Regions from separate parts of the Homo sapiens genome. Here region 1 is linked to region 2. Evidence: promoter capture Hi-C in 16 types of primary human blood cells and fetal thymus (Javierre and others, 2016). All regions are on one chromosome and are shown on one strand. The core of a region is centred on a gene start or on the middle of the fragment in contact, and the rest is flanking DNA. Distances in the headings are between cores, read along the strand shown.

Evidence for each region. The method cuts DNA at HindIII sites, captures the fragments that hold promoters and counts their contacts. A CHiCAGO score of 5 or more calls a contact.
Region 1: the fragment with the promoter of INTS6L here is called in contact with the fragment with the promoter of HPRT1 in region 2 in 1 of 17 cell types (neutrophils); the score reaches 6.2 in neutrophils.

Annotation. Positions count from the first base shown.
Region 1 is chrX:135,519,363-135,522,062 of GRCh38, forward strand. It overlaps INTS6L (integrator complex subunit 6 like), which reads left to right and starts at 1,298. Exons shown (of 18, transcript NM_001351601.3): 1 at 1,298-1,741; 2 at 1,879-1,956. The coding sequence starts at 1,631. INTS6L-AS1 (INTS6L antisense RNA 1) reads right to left here and starts at 1,312. Exons shown (of 2, transcript NR_046740.1): 1 at 1,205-1,312; 2 at 721-1,010. RefSeq lists enhancers at 1,452-1,531, 1,562-1,621 and silencers at 1,872-2,141, 2,202-2,401. The HindIII fragment of the contact is 2,771 bases long and covers 738-2,700 here.
Region 2 is chrX:134,458,772-134,461,471 of GRCh38, forward strand. It overlaps HPRT1 (hypoxanthine phosphoribosyltransferase 1), which reads left to right and starts at 1,394. Exons shown (of 9, transcript NM_000194.3): 1 at 1,394-1,567. The coding sequence starts at 1,541. RefSeq lists silencers at 1,266-1,385, 1,486-1,665. The HindIII fragment of the contact is 6,801 bases long and covers 1-2,700 here.

The DNA of each region.
Region 1 (2,700 bases), core at 48-2,547, 1.1 Mb after region 2:
ACCTCGGCCTCCCAAAGTGCTGGAATTACAGGCATGAGCCACTGCGCCTGGCCAAAATATATAAAATATTATGTATGTATATGTCATCATCTCTCCTCAATGAAACTGCAAACTCATTGAAGTCCTGGATTCCACATTGTCAATAGTAATTGCCAGGAATACACAAGTCCAATTTTTAAAATTGTGTCATATGAAGTAGTCAATCAAGTGTGGTTGGCCACTTACTGAGTCTCTTCACAGAGCCAGACCTGAGAGTATCCGTAATTGTTACCCTAACCTCAGGGAGCTGCATTTTCCTCTACTGAAAATTGAATACAATGCCATCTGCCATAATTAATTCAAAGATTAAACAAGGCTACCGTGGGTGCCTGGCTCTTCATAGGCACTCAATAAATGTGAGTTGAGAGCCTGCCCCTGTGGTCCCAGCTACTTGAGAGGCTGAGATGGGAGGATCGCTTAAGCCCAGGAGCTGGACGCTGCAGGCAGCTATGATGGGGCCACTGCACTCCAGCCTGGGCGATCAAGCGAGATCCTCTTTATTTATTTATAAAAATAAATAAATAAATAAATATGTGAGTTGAATCACAATCTAGGTTTGCAAACCTCCATGTGTAAAGGCTGCGCAGAGGGAACAGTGGTGGAATTATCACAGGCAGGCCAATGTTTCAAAGAGCTTAGTGAAACTGAAGAAGCTTGTGCATACAAAAGGCCAGTTTAGGTAACTGTAACTGTGTTTAAGCTTTAGTTTCCTTTCTAAGTAGATATATGTGGAATGCAAGGCCAGCAACCAACTCACAAATACTGATCAAGACGGGGGAGGGATCTAAAGGAATGTGAGTACGTCCTGCCAGGAAAGAAGTTTGCTGCTTCTGAAATATTTTCGTCTTCGCCACTGGCAGGATTGATCGATTGCAGTTAGCGAAGAATTTTCTGTGCAAACTGTCCAAGCATCTGCTTCTGTACTTCTGTACAACTGTTGCTCAAATTCACTCTTCTTTTCGAATCACCATCTTTGAAGAGAGACAGAAAAATCCATTTAAACCACCCGAACTAATCATTCGAACTGCTTCCAAGTCCTTTAAAGGAGAATCCTAGCGAGGGTCCGTAACACTTCCCCTTACCCTCTGCCTGGGTTCAAACTTCAACTCCCAGGGTTCGCCCAAGTCCCTCCCCTAGTCCTGTCATCTAATGAATATGCAAATACCACATAATTGGCAGCCAATGGCATGGGTTCTGGTCACATGGTGCCGATGGTAGGTGAGCAGACAGAAGTTGTCAGTGAACAGAGACGGCGCTCAGTCTGGGGCGAGCGCTCTAGTGAGCGCGGACGGATGCTTAGGCAGTAGTCCTGGCAGCGGCAGTAGTGGTGGCAGCAGAAGAGAGGAAGGGGGAGGGCCCCGAGGGCTACACACGCTCACACTTTCAAGTTCCCTTGGAGGGAGAGGAGGTGGGGCTGCAGAAAGAGGAGGCCAGGAGCGGTCCCATCCGTCCCGTCCCGTCCCGTCTCCCCCTCTTCCTCTTGCTCCTTGCTCCCCGGCTCTGCGAGAGTTGAGGGTTCAGGTGGCCGTACGCGGCAGTGAGGGCAAGAGGGCCGGGAGAGTGGGGAGCGGAGGCAGGAGTGCGGGGGAAGATGCCCATCCTGCTGTTCCTCATAGACACGTCCGCCTCTATGAACCAGCGCACTGACCTGGGCACCTCTTATTTGGACATTGCCAAAGGCGCTGTGGAGTTATTCTTGAAGGTAAAGGGAGGGGAGGGGAGAGATGGGGAGAGCTCCCGAGGGATTTCAGGGTGTGGATTGAGGTGCTTCTGTAACGTTTGTATCGCCCTCCCCCCTCCTTTCCTACGCGACCCCCTCCGTCATCCCTTGCCCCGCAGCTGCGCGCCCGGGACCCGGCCAGCCGTGGAGACAGGTACATGCTGGTCACCTACGACGAACCCCCGTACTGCATCAAGGTAAAGGGGCTACGGGTGGGGGGACAGGCGGGAAGCGGGAGCAAGTCGGCGGGGGCTGCTTACCCCCCTGCCCCCGCCTAAGGCGGTCCTGCGTCGCCCGGCGGGGCGGGCGGCGAGGGGGTGCGCAGAGGGCGGGCGGAGTGGTGCCGTCGGCGGCTTCGGAGTAGCTGTCGCGCCTGGGGTCGGGGAGAGGGGACCGGGGAGGAGCAGCCCCGGGGAGAAACCGCAGGAGGGCCGAGCTCGTGGCGCGACAACCGCAGCCGCCTCGGAACATGGCGGACATTTTGCTTTTGTATGAGCCTGCGAGAGGGAGACTGAGGGCGCTGCTGAGATGGAAAGGAGGGAGGGGAGGGAGGAGCGGGGAAGGAGGGCCCGAAACCCGGAGGGAGGCTGCGAGGCGGGCCCGCCCCTTCGAGGCGCACCGCGCGAGGGTCGCCGCGCGGGGGGCCGGACGGAGCCTGCGACTCCGCCCCGAGGTCCTGCCGGCCGGGCGCGCGGGCTTTCCCGGAGCCTGGGCTCCTCCTCTGGCCCCTCCTTCCTCCCCCGGTCTTCCTCCCCCTCCTTGGGCTCTTCGCTGCATCTCCTCCTTCTCCCCCTCTTCCTCCTGGTCCCCTCCCCTTCCTGCTGAGAGCGTGGCAGAGCCAGCCGCCGGCCTTCAAAGACTAGACAACCGCCTTTGCACTCGTTGGCCTCTCACCACCCCCGCGCAATCGGAAATCTGTCCGCGACGCCAGTCTCCCCACC
Region 2 (2,700 bases), core at 144-2,643:
CCTGGGCTCAAGCCATCCTCCCACCTCAGCCTCCCAAGTAGCTGGGGCTACAGGCACATGGCCACCAGGCCCAGATAATTTTTCATTTTTGTAGAGACTGAGTCTCACCATGTTACCCAGGTTTATTATTCTCATTTTTTAGATGAAGAGACTGAGGTCCAGAGAAGCTCAATGACTTGCCTAGTTTTACAAATCTCCTGCCATCACATACCCCTCAGCGTCCTTAATAAGAGGGAGGCCACCAACTATGTGCTGGGCACTGTGGTGGATGCTGGAGCTATAGGGTTGAGTATATAAGAAATGGTGTTGCTGGAGCAACTGTTGCTTGCTTACCTGACCTATCTGAGAATTAATTAGCAGGGGAACATATTTTTGTTTTCAGATTCAATATAAGAACTTGTGTGGGCAAAAATAAAGATCAGTAGTAATAACAGTAGTTCCCATTTGCTGACTGTACTGTCCTAAGTGCATATATATATACATACACACACGCATACCTATACTCCTCTAATACTCAAAATGATCCTGTTTATGTATTGTTAATATGCTCATTTTATTTTTAAATTTTTATTTATTTTTATTTTTATTTATTTTTGAGACGGAGTCTCATTCTGTCGCGGAGGCTGAAGTGCAGTGGTGCGATCTCAGCTCAGTGCGACCTCCGCCTCCCGGGTTCAAGTGATTCTCCTGCCTCAGCCTCCGGACTAGCTGGGATTACAGGCGCCCGCCTCCACGCCCAGCTAATTTTTGTATTTTTAGTAGAGATGGGGTTTCGCCATGTTGGCCAGGCTGGTCTCGTACTCCTGACCTTGAGTGATCCACCTGCCTCGGCCTCCCAAAGTGCTGGGATTACAGGCATGAGCCACCGCGCCGGGCTAATATGCTCATTTTAGTGAGGCAAAAATAGAGGCTCAGAGTCTGATTTGTACAAAACTACAGAGCAGTTAAGTGTCCTCTCAGATGTGTACCCTGATCTGGGTGACTCTAGGACTCTAGGTCTCAACTGTTACAACCAGTTAAGGGTTTGGGGAAGCACTGGGCCAAGAGTCAGGAAAATGGAAGCCACAGGTAGTGCAAGGTCTTGGGAATGGGACGTCTGGTCCAAGGATTCACGCGATGACTGGAACCCGAAGAGCCGGGGCCCGGTTTACGGCCGCCATGAAGCAACGCGCGCCGGTAGGTTTGGGAATCAGGGAGCCCTCTGAATAGGAGACTGAGTTGGGAGGGAAAGGGGCTTCGCTGGGGGAGCCTCGGCTTCTTCTGGGAGAAAATTCCCACGGCTACCTAGTGAGCCTGCAAACTGGTAGGCGCCGGCGTAGGCGCGCGGGCGGGGCCGGGGGCGGGGCCTGCGGGGCGTGGCGGGGCGGGCAGAGGGCGGGGCCTGCTTCTCCTCAGCTTCAGGCGGCTGCGACGAGCCCTCAGGCGAACCTCTCGGCTTTCCCGCGCGGCGCCGCCTCTTGCTGCGCCTCCGCCTCCTCCTCTGCTCCGCCACCGGCTTCCTCCTCCTGAGCAGTCAGCCCGCGCGCCGGCCGGCTCCGTTATGGCGACCCGCAGCCCTGGCGTCGTGGTGAGCAGCTCGGCCTGCCGGCCCTGGCCGGTTCAGGCCCACGCGGCAGGTGGCGGCCGGGCCCTGAGGCGCGGGATCCGCAGTGCGGGCTCGGGCGGCCGGGCCCAGGGAACCCCGCAGGCGGGGGCGGCCAGTTTCCCGGGTTCGGCTTTACGTCACGCGAGGGCGGCAGGGAGGACGGAATGGCGGGGTTTGGGGTGGGTCCCTCCTCGGGGGAGCCCTGGGAAAAGAGGACTGCGTGTGGGAAGAGAAGGTGGAAATGGCGTTTTGGTTGACATGTGCCGCCTGCGAGCGTGCTGCGGGGAGGGGCCGAGGGCAGATTCGGGAATGATGGCGCGGGGTGGGGGCGTGGGGGCTTTCTCGGGAGAGGCCCTTCCCTGGAAGTTTGGGGTGCGATGGTGAGGTTCTCGGGGCACCTCTGGAGGGGCCTCGGCACGGAAAGCGACCACCTGGGAGGGCGTGTGGGGACCAGGTTTTGCCTTTAGTTTTGCACACACTGTAGTTCATCTTTATGGAGATGCTCATGGCCTCATTGAAGCCCCACTACAGCTCTGGTAGCGGTAACCATGCGTATTTGACACACGAAGGAACTAGGGAAAAGGCATTAGGTCATTTCAAGCCGAAATTCACATGTGCTAGAATCCAGATTCCATGCTGACCGATGCCCCAGGATATAGAAAATGAGAATCTGGTCCTTACCTTCAAGAACATTCTTAACCGTAATCAGCCTCTGGTATCTTAGCTCCACCCTCACTGGTTTTTTCTTGTTTGTTGAACCGGCCAAGCTGCTGGCCTCCCTCCTCAACCGTTCTGATCATGCTTGCTAAAATAGTCAAAACCCCGGCCAGTTAAATATGCTTTAGCCTGCTTTATTATGATTATTTTTGTTGTTTTGGCAATGACCTGGTTACCTGTTGTTTCTCCCACTAAAACTTTTTAAGGGCAGGAATCACCGCCGTAACTCTAGCACTTAGCACAGTACTTGGCTTGTAAGAGGTCCTCGATGATGGTTTGTTGAATGAATACATTAAATAATTAACCACTTGAACCCTAAGAAAGAAGCGATTCTATTTCATATTAGGCATTGTAATGACTTAAGGTAAAGAGCAGTGCTATTAACGGAGTCTAACTGG